2 separate regions of the Homo sapiens genome follow, and region 2 is linked to region 1. The links are contacts of gene promoters, found by promoter capture Hi-C in blood cells and fetal thymus (Javierre and others, 2016). All regions are on one chromosome and are shown on one strand. The core of a region is centred on a gene start or on the middle of the fragment in contact, and the rest is flanking DNA. Distances in the headings are between cores, read along the strand shown.

What was found. The method cuts DNA at HindIII sites, captures the fragments that hold promoters and counts their contacts. A CHiCAGO score of 5 or more calls a contact.
Region 2: a contact is called between a fragment that was not itself captured here and the fragment with the promoter of PLXNB3 in region 1, in 1 of 17 cell types (total B cells). The highest score is 5.5, in total B cells.

Annotation. Positions count from the first base shown.
Region 1 is chrX:153,760,978-153,765,993 of GRCh38, reverse strand. PLXNB3 (plexin B3) reads right to left here and starts at 1,745. Exons shown (of 36, transcript NM_005393.3): 1 at 1,690-1,745; 2 at 414-523. The coding sequence starts at 458. PLXNB3-AS1 (PLXNB3 antisense RNA 1) reads left to right here. Exons shown (of 3, transcript NR_199696.1): 2 at 2,145-2,284. The HindIII fragment of the contact is 7,823 bases long and covers 1-2,701 here.
Region 2 is chrX:154,485,033-154,490,048 of GRCh38, reverse strand. It overlaps UBL4A (ubiquitin like 4A), which reads left to right and starts at 3,434. Exons shown (of 4, transcript NM_014235.5): 1 at 3,434-3,512; 2 at 3,716-3,821; 3 at 4,070-4,278; 4 at 4,400-5,016. The coding sequence starts at 3,465. The coding sequence ends at 4,510. It overlaps SLC10A3 (solute carrier family 10 member 3), which reads left to right. Exons shown (of 2, transcript NM_019848.5): 2 at 967-2,738. The coding sequence starts at 1,109. The coding sequence ends at 2,542. RefSeq lists enhancers at 2,831-2,890, 3,228-3,986, 3,987-4,745 and silencers at 3,151-3,410, 3,901-4,050. The HindIII fragment of the contact is 182 bases long and covers 2,560-2,741 here.

The DNA of each region.
Region 1 (5,016 bases), core at 496-2,995:
GGAGGGGTCAGGGAAGGGGCAGGGAGGGGTGCCAGACTGGAGATGGTTCCTGGGTGTGCCTGGTGGGACCCCGGGGTGAGCCCCCGAGGGTGAGAGGTGGGAGCAGCCCCTTCTCTGGCCCCTCCTGCCCTCCACAGAGAGATGCTGCCCTGGGTGTGTGGTCACATGCCGACCAGGAGTGGGGCCGCTGCGACTCAGGGCAGAGCAGCGCCTGGAGGAAGGCCCAGGAGCCGCTTATCTCAGGAACACAGGCAGGAAGAGCACGGACACTTCCTGCGGACCCCGGGCTATCTGGGGCAGTGTCTGCCATGAGGGAGGCTGCAGCCTGTATGTCCTGGGCCTGGCCACAGCCATCCTGCCCTACCCTGCCCCTCCCAGGAACATTTCTGGGGACACCGGGCCTGGGCACTTACCATGAAGTGGTGCAGCAGAGGGGTCTCCTGGGCGGCGTGGCACATACGCTCAGTTCAGCTGCCCCAGGGCAGTGGCGATGGGCATGAGATGGCTGCGGGGGGGCATTGTCCTGAGTGGGAGGGAGACAGTCGAGGCTCAGCCCCATTCGAGCTGGCCTGGGGAAGGAGGGGCGGCGGTGGGGGTGGCGCCCAGGGCCTAGCGACCGGGCTCCCTCACAGCTGGCAGCTTTGTCAATAGTGGCCAGGCCAAGGCAGCCCTGCCTCCACCACAACAATGTTCCCTCTGTCCAGAGGCCAGGCCAGGGCCCCACTCGCTAGTGCTGTCACCCCCACTGGGCTGTTCTGGACAGGGGGCTCCTTGCCACTTCCCACCCTCAGGGAGCCACCCCCGGGATCCGGGGACAAAGGGCCGGGGTTTCCTCCAGCCAGCCCTCCCCCTCTGGCCCTGCAACCCCTGTGTCACTAAGCATGCCCCTCCCTGGCTCCCCGGGTCCCTGTGAAGGGCACGGGGTGGACCTTGGAGCCCCTGCAAATGCCGGCTGGTAGCCTTGGGGCCTGGGTGAAGTGCCAGTCCTGGCCCTCAATGCCTGCCTTTGTCCAAAAGATCTTCCTCCACACCCCCAGCCCAGCCCTGCCCCTGGGGACTGGTGAAGTGGTGCCAGGTACAGCATGGTGGCAGCGAGCAGGACCACGGGAGGAGGCTGCTTGAGATGGGCTGAGGCAGAGGGTCCACAGGCCGGGGCTGTCCACCCCACCCTCTGAAGCACCGTCCTGCTGGCCTAGATGCCATCCATGCAGGGGATGGGGAAGGGAGGGGCACCTAGCAGCTAGACCCCCTGTCACCCTCACAGGCCACCCTGGCCAGTGGCACAGGAGCAGGTGCACTGGGGATGGGGTCTCTGCCTCCCCCACAGCACGGCAGCAGTAGGCTCCAGGGCAAGGTGGCAGTGGGCTGCTGTCACCTGGCTGGGCCAGTTGGGTGGCTGTGGGGGTGGGGAGCCAGGCGGGCAGCCTCTCTACCCTGTACCCTGCCCGAGGCTGGCGTTGGCTTTCCCATTTCGGGGAAGAAACATGGTTCCCCACCTCCTAACCCCAGGGCTACCACTTGGGGGACACCGTGCTCCCAGACACCTAGTGCCGTCGTCAGGCTGGGCCGACACCCGAGCGCTCTTGCCTGACCCCAGCCAGTTGGCCCTGAGACCCTGATGCCTTGCCCTGAGGCTGGTAGCCCCTGCACCCCAAGCCCAAGCCCAAGCCTGCCCCAGCTCTTGCCTACCTGGTGGGCCACCGGCGAGGGCCAAGTAGCAGCTGGCGGTGCCAGGAGCACGTCTCACAGAGCCCCAGCCTCCCTCCCCACAATGCAATCGTGCCCAGTCCGACTCATCCCAACAAGCCCGGCCAGGCAGCCCAGCCTCTCTCCGCCCGCCCCTTTGCCCAATGGCACAGGGCAGGATGTTGCTGCCCTCTGCTGGCCGCAGCGGGCATGATGGAGTACTGACCGTGGGCACCTGGCAGGTGAGAGACGGCAGCGCCCTCCTATTGGGTGGGCATTCCATAACCTGGCACGAAGCACCTACTGGATGCCAGGCTTGGGCTTGGCACTGGCACCATCCAGAAACAAACACAGGTTGGGAAACTGAGGCACAGGAGGTTAGGAAACTTGAATAAAGTCACACAGCTAGTATGTGGCAAGGCTGAGTCAATCACAGGGCCCCTTCACTTAACCGTCAGGCTACATGACCTTGAACCATGAACCTTGGCAGGCGTTGGGCAGGAGATGGAGCTGAGGCCTACCCCAGGCCAGGCCTGGACGTGACATGCCCACGTGGCGTTGAGGAAAAACCAGTGTTTCCCACCGACTGGAACACAAGGTTGGTCAAGGGCCGTCTCCCAGGGTGTGGCGGAGGTCAGCAAATCAGGTGGGGTCTTTGTGGCCAGGCTTGAGAACTTGAACTTGTCTCGCCATGGGCAACTGCAAGCTGGTGGCACTGGGGCAGAGAATGTGGGGAGGCCTGGTCCAGTGGTGGTCATGGGCATGGAGAGAGGCGGGCGCGTTCTAGAGGCGCTCTGGGGAGGCAGCATTCTGAAGACTGTGCGTTGGACCCAGGGCAGGAGGCGAAGGCAGGAGAATCCAGGCGACCCTGGGGCTTTTCTGCTGGGGCACTGTTCCCCCTGTGGCAGGGCCATCCACAGAGGGGCTGGCGGAAGTGGGAGGACGGTAAGACTGAGGGGCCCATGAGGGAGGAGGAAATGGTGATGGGGCTGGGGAGGCCTGGGGGTGAGAAGCTTGGCTCAGGTGGCTGGAGCCCTGGGGGCGGCCAGGGTATAGGGCCAGGTGTTGGCCCTGGAGCTCAAAGGCCCAGCAGACTCGGGGTATGGGTGCTTCCCTGAGCAGCTGTGTCATTCTTTCCAACCTGCATGGAGAGAAATGGGGCACAGAGGTGGGTAACTTGCCCAGGGCCATGACCTGACGTCGTTTCTTCAGAGTGCATTCCACAGAGATGGGATTTGAACCTGGGCATTCTGGCACGGGCCACGCTCTGGACCACTGGGCCCCAGATCCACAGCTTCTCACCTGCAGCCGCTGAGGATGTGGAGGCAGACCAGGCAGGCCCGTGGGAAGGACCACCAAAAAGCGAGTGAGCAGCCGGCGAGGGGTCTCTCCCCAACAGGAAGGCCAGGCAGCCTTGAAGGAGCCAGGGAGGGATTTAGAAGCTCCAGGAGGGGAGGCTTGGGGGAGCCAGCTGGCCTCTCTCCCTCTCCCTGTCCTTCCCCCCATGCCTACCCCAACACACACACACATGTCCTTGCTGGCCCCGGATGAGACAGACGCCTGCAATCTGGCATGGGGAATGGGTTTCTCCTTCCTTTCCACAGAAGAAAATAAATCAGGCTGGGCGTCGTGGCTCCCGCCTGTAATCCCAGCACTTTGGGAGCCTAAGGCAGCAGGATCACTTGGGCCCAGGAGTTCTAGACCAGCATGGGCAACATAGTGAGACCCCCATCTCTATAAAAAAATTTAAAAATTAGCCAGGCATGGTGGTGCGAGCCTGTAGTCCCAGCTACTTGGGAGGCTGAAGTGGGAGGATCGCCTGAGCCTGGGAGTTGGTGCCTGCAGTGAGCCGTGATGGTGCCATTGCACTCTAGCCTGGGTGACAGTGCAAGACTCTGTCTTTAAAAAAAAAAGAAAAGAAAGAAAGAAAAAAGAAAATAAATCCATCCACAGGCAGCACCATTTTCATAAATATGTGTGTATATGGCCTGCATATGCACCTTCTACGCTTTCTGAGCAGATAAGAGGCGTGGCTATGGCAGCCCCTGGTCTGAAGCTGGTGTAACCAGAAAGGATCTAGGCTGGTTTGGGGAACCGGAACATCTTATGTCAGGGGAGTCGTGCTGGATTTATCCTGCAATGGCCGGGTCCCCTCACCAAGGGATGGGAAGGCAGCGTCAACTGATCTGGTGTCGTCTCCTTGCTGTGTGCCAGGCTTCTCAATGCTGGAAGGGGACTCGTTGGGTCAGTGGGACGTGGGCTTCACGTTTGCTGGGCTGAAGACGTAGCTCTCCATGCTGGCATCCCAGCGGACACCCCCACTGCCACTGCTGCACCACGTCTTCACGTACACCAGAGAGCAGACTTGAGAGTTTCTGCGCATACAGTGGGTGTGAAATGGTGCCCTGCTGGGTTTTGAATCGGCATTCCTTGACCACCGGCCATATTGCAGCACTTTTCATTTCTTCTGTCAAATGCCCGTGCATGTCTTGGCTTACACTTTGCAGGTGTTCTGTATTTTCCACACCAATCCCTGGGGTGTATGTCTTCGGCCTACCTGTTACTTGTCTTCTCAGTTTGCTGATGTATCATGTGATAAACAGAAAGTCTTAATTTTAATATCATAGCATTTATCAATCTGATTTCTTTTTTTGAGACGGGGTCTCGCTCTGTCGTGCAGGCTGGGGTGCATTGGCGCAATCATGGCTCACTGAAGCCTCCTGGGCTCAAGTGATCCTCCCACCTTAGCCTCCCAAACACCTGGGACTACAGGCAGGCGCCACAGTGCCTGGCTAATTTTGTAATTTTTTTGTAGAGACAGGGTCTCGCTATGTTGCCCAGGCTGGTCTCAAACTCCTGGACTCAAGCGGCCCTCCCGCCTTGGCTTCCCAAAGTGCTGGCCCGTGAGCCTGTGAGCCACTGCGCCTGGCTACCTTCTTTTGAATTCCCATTCAGACTGTGTGTTGCTGGTACATAGAAAAACAATGGATTTCTATGTATCAAGTAACCTTGTAAACTCTCATATTAAGTCTAATAATTATGTTTGGGTTCTCTTTGTGGATTCTTTTTGATTTTCTGCGTACACAATCCTATCATCTGCAAGTAATGACCATTTTGTTTCTTCTATTCCAGTCTTTTTAGCTTTGATTTCTTTTTTTGAGGCAGAGTCTGGCTCTGTCACCCAGGCTGGAGTATAGTGGCACAATCTTGGCTCACTGCAACCTCCGCCTCCCTGGTTCAAGCAGTTCTCCTGCCTCAGCCTCCCAAGAAGCTGGGACTACAGGCACCCACCACCACGCCTGACTAATTTTTGTATCTTTACCAGACACA
Region 2 (5,016 bases), core at 1,401-3,900, 720 kb before region 1:
GTCCTGGTGCCTTCATCTTAGCTCCTGTACTTTGCCTCTCCCACCCCACTGGTTTTCCTGCCTCCCTCTTCAGAGGTAAGACACATGGCTGGACCAAGGCCTCCAGGGTAAGTGACCCGAACTTCAAGCCAGCAGAGGCCATGTCATCCTAAGCTAGGGATAGGGGAGGCTCGCCGGGATGAGCCTTTGGCTTAACCTAACCTCTGCTCCCTACTTCTGCCTCACCCCAGTCTCAGATGACGGGAGGCCAATGCCAAAGACGGATAGGATCTATAGAGGCAGTCCTCTTCTAGGACTGGGACACAACAGTGCATGAGGCAACTGACAGGGGTGATGTAAAGCTGTTGTGTCTCCATCCTGGTTGCCCCAGTTCTAGCAGGTGATGTGACACTACGGTGGTCGCTGCCCAGATTGAGAAGTGGAAGGGGGTGTTGCTGGCCGCTAGAAACACTCATAATTCCACTGAGTTTGAGGCTCTGGTAGGGGCGCATGTGGGCATGGGAAGGAGCCCTGCACTCTGAGCACAGCCTCTCAGATGTAACGCAGTGGCTCTGGGAGGTCAAAGTCTCAGCCCAGTGGGAGCTCTGACAAAAGGAGGAGAAACCCCCCCAGTAGACATGTGGCTCTGTCTGATCCACTCCTGCCGCCCCTTCTGGCAACTTCCCTGGGGAGGGAGGACCTGCTTCCCAGCAGGACCTTCATCGAGTCACTGTAGGGGCAGGTAGAGTGGGCCAGGGAGCCACAGCTGAATGGCACTCAAGGGCCATCACTAGGCATTGCCTCTCCATTCCTGAGTGTGGGGCAAGGGTCCCTGCTGAGTTTTACTCTTAGCAGTGGGCTTCCAGATCCCCATGCTCCTGGGTTCTTGACTGCCTCCCTCTTCAGAGGTAAGACACATGGCTGGACCAAGGCCTCCAGGGTAAGTGACCCTCACCAGCTGCCTCTCTGTGTCCCTTACCTCCTCAGGGACAGCCCTGCCATCAAGGAAGACAGCACAGGACTGGGACCCACCCATGAACCCTTCTCAGGACAACCCAACAGCACCAGTGGGGATGTTCTCCTAAGCCGCAGAGGGCCTGGGCACGCCATCCGTCCTCCAGGAAGAGCCATGGTGTTAATGCAGGACAAGGGCAGCTCTCAGCAGTGGCCTGGTCTGGGGGGCGAGGGTGGTGGCACAGGTCCCTTAAGCATGCTCAGAGCTGCCCTGCTGCTCATCAGCCTGCCATGGGGGGCCCAAGGGACAGCCAGCACCAGCCTCAGCACTGCTGGGGGTCACACCGTGCCACCGACTGGGGGCCGCTACTTGAGCATTGGAGATGGCTCTGTGATGGAGTTTGAGTTTCCTGAGGACAGTGAGGGCATCATCGTGATCTCCAGCCAGTACCCAGGCCAGGCCAACAGGACGGCGCCTGGCCCCATGCTCAGGGTCACCTCCCTGGACACAGAGGTGCTGACCATCAAGAACGTGAGTGCTATAACCTGGGGAGGCGGGGGTGGCTTTGTGGTGAGCATCCACTCAGGCCTGGCTGGGCTGGCCCCACTCCACATCCAGCTCGTGGACGCCCATGAGGCCCCGCCCACACTGATTGAGGAGCGGAGAGACTTCTGCATCAAGGTCTCACCTGCTGAAGACACGCCTGCCACCCTCAGCGCCGACCTGGCCCACTTCTCGGAAAACCCAATCCTCTACCTGCTCCTGCCTCTTATCTTTGTCAACAAGTGTTCGTTTGGGTGCAAAGTGGAACTCGAGGTTCTGAAGGGGCTCATGCAGAGCCCCCAGCCCATGCTGCTGGGCCTCCTGGGCCAGTTTCTGGTCATGCCCTTGTACGCTTTCCTCATGGCCAAGGTCTTCATGCTGCCCAAGGCCCTGGCTCTGGGCCTCATCATCACCTGCTCGTCGCCTGGCGGCGGGGGGAGCTACCTCTTCAGCCTCCTTCTTGGAGGGGACGTCACCCTGGCCATCTCCATGACTTTCCTCTCTACGGTGGCTGCCACTGGCTTCTTGCCTCTGTCTTCGGCCATCTACAGCCGCCTGCTCAGCATCCATGAGACGCTCCACGTGCCCATCTCCAAGATCCTGGGGACCCTGCTGTTCATTGCCATCCCCATAGCCGTGGGCGTGCTGATCAAGTCCAAGCTCCCCAAGTTCTCCCAGCTGCTGCTGCAGGTCGTCAAGCCCTTCAGCTTTGTGCTCCTCCTGGGCGGCCTCTTCCTGGCCTATCGCATGGGGGTCTTCATCCTGGCAGGCATCCGGCTACCCATCGTACTGGTGGGTATCACGGTGCCCCTGGTTGGCCTGTTGGTGGGCTACTGCCTAGCCACGTGTCTGAAGCTGCCAGTGGCCCAGCGGCGGACGGTCAGCATTGAGGTAGGGGTGCAGAACAGCCTGCTGGCCTTGGCCATGCTGCAGCTATCCCTCCGCCGCCTTCAAGCTGACTATGCCTCCCAGGCCCCCTTCATTGTGGCGCTGAGCGGCACCTCCGAGATGCTGGCCTTGGTCATTGGCCACTTCATCTACAGCAGCCTGTTCCCAGTTCCCTGAGGCCTCTGGGTCAAGCTTTCATCAGCCCCAGCCCCCACACTCCACCAAAGTTCTCATGCACTATGCACTCAGAAAAATCCAGGCTTATTTTTTTTACTGATTTTTTATTCTCCAGCTTTCAGTGCCAAAGAGGCCATGCTGAGTTAGGTAGGTGGGCGCTGCCCAGAAAATATATTTCAATAAAAGAGAGAAGCAAGCTTGGGTCCCTTCTACTCTTTGCCCTTTGGGGCCTGGGCGTGGGGGTAGAAAGAGTGTGCTGGGTAAGTGTGGACCAGGGTGGAGGGCCAGCTTGGGTGACACGGTGACCCCTGCATAGGCTTTCCCTATCAGCCCTCCCCGGGGGTGTCCCCACTCTGGGAGAGGTGGGAGGATGAGGGCAGAGGCGTAGCCCCCCTGCCCCCTCTCAAGCTCAGTGGAGCGTTTCGCAGCCAGACCAGAAAGGAGGAGGTAGGAAGCCACCAGACAGGGAGCGGGGGCGGGCCGTCTGTGGGTATGCAGGGCCAGGCGCCGCCAGCAGTCCTGGCGCGTGAGGTGGGCCAGGCAGTCCGCGGGGGCGAGCGTACCTTCTGGCCCTCCCTTCTCCATGTCCCAGCTCCCAGATGACGCCAACCTGGCCCGACTGGTTCCTGCTCCCAACTCCCCCGCGTCGTTGCTTTGGGAGGGGTCCGCCGGCCAGGGCGGTCGATGCGCGCATGCTAGGCGGGACCCCGGGGGGACTCCTCCCGGGGCGCAATTGGGCCGGGGGGCGGGGCCGGGGCGCGGACGGGGCAGGAGGGCGGGGCCGGGAAGCGCGGGCGGCGGGCGCGCCCCTCTCGCTGCTTCCGGCGGCGGCGGGCGGTTCCAGCGCGCGCCCGGGGCGGCGGCGCGCGGCGGGGGGTGGTTGGGGTGCGCGCCGGCCCGAGTGGACGCCGTCGCGACCGCCATGCAGCTGACGGTGAAGGCGCTGCAGGGCCGCGAGTGCAGCCTGCAGGTAGGGTCCCCGGGCCGGGCCGCCGGGTCCGGCGCGCTCTCTCGCCCGCTCCTGGCAGGGGGACCGGCAGGGCCGAGGGCGGGCACGGGGCGGCCGGGCCGAGGGCCGGGAGCCGGGAGAGCTGCCCTCGGGGGCGGACGCGTGGGCTTCGCCGTCTGGGGGCCGCGGGCTCAACCCTTGCCTCCCACCCTCCGCGCGGCCAGGTGCCAGAGGACGAGCTGGTGTCCACGCTGAAGCAGCTGGTCTCCGAGAAGCTGAACGTCCCAGTGCGCCAGCAGCGGCTGCTGTTCAAGGGCAAGGCCCTGGCAGGTACCCAGGGAGAGGAGACGCCCGGGGAGCCCCGCAGGAAGCGGGACCGGGGTGCGCGGGCCGAGGCCAGCAGCCGTGTGTCGGGTCGGGGTGCGGGCGCCAAGCGCCACATGACCCCAAGGGAGGCGGCCGCATGCCTCACAGCCGGATGCCGCAGCGCTCCGCTCCCGCCGCCCGAGGCGGCCTCGCGCCCCGGGCCACCCCCACGGCGGTGGAGGAGGAGGAACCCATCGATCTGTCTTTGGCAGATGGGAAACGACTCTCGGATTATAGCATCGGGCCCAACTCCAAGCTCAACCTAGTGGTCAAACCCCTGGAGAAGGTGCTACTAGAAGAAGGCGAGGCCCAGAGGCTGGCCGACTCCCCACCCCCGCAGGTCTGGCAGCTGATCTCCAAAGTCTTGGCCCGCCACTTCAGTGCGGCAGATGCCAGCAGGGTCCTGGAACAGCTACAGAGGGTGAGAAGGGTAACCCTGGGCATCCTCTTCAGGCCCAGTTGCTCCCAGCCCCTACCTCTGTTGCAGTGTATGCCCCCCCACCACTGGCAGCCCCTGAATCTTCCTGCCCTTCTCTCCCCAGGATTACGAGAGGTCCCTGAGTCGCCTGACGCTGGACGACATCGAACGGTTGGCCAGCCGCTTCCTGCACCCTGAAGTGACTGAGACAATGGAGAAGGGCTTCTCCAAATAGAATTCTCGGAGCATGGGGAGGTGCCCAACGCCAGGCTACCGCTGCATGTCGCACTAAGTGTGTTCTCCTGTTGCAGTTGGGCTCATCATCATCATAGCTGGCATGTACCTGGCTCTGGCCAGGTGCTAGGCACTCCTCACAGCTTGACCTGGGTTTGCTTCCACACCCTCAGAAGAGGAGAGCCGGCACAGCAGAGGCACCGGCGATGAAGTGGCACAGCCCCAGTCGGAATCCAGCGGCTTCTGAAAGTGCCTTGGTGTGAGAAGGAGGAAGGGGCCGCTTGGAGAGCTGGGCTCTCGCATGTCATGTTTAGCCCACTGAGAATATACCCTCAGGTGACTCCCTCCCGATCCTGAAAGGGAAAGCAGCTGTCACCTGACTTCTGGCGGGTCCAACATAGCCCTCAGCTTACCTCTGCAGGAGGCCAAGTGACAGCCAGCCCTGGAACCCCCCGACCCCCGCAGCTGCTGCAGCCAGTGTGCCAGTGTGCGTTCGACAAATGGAAA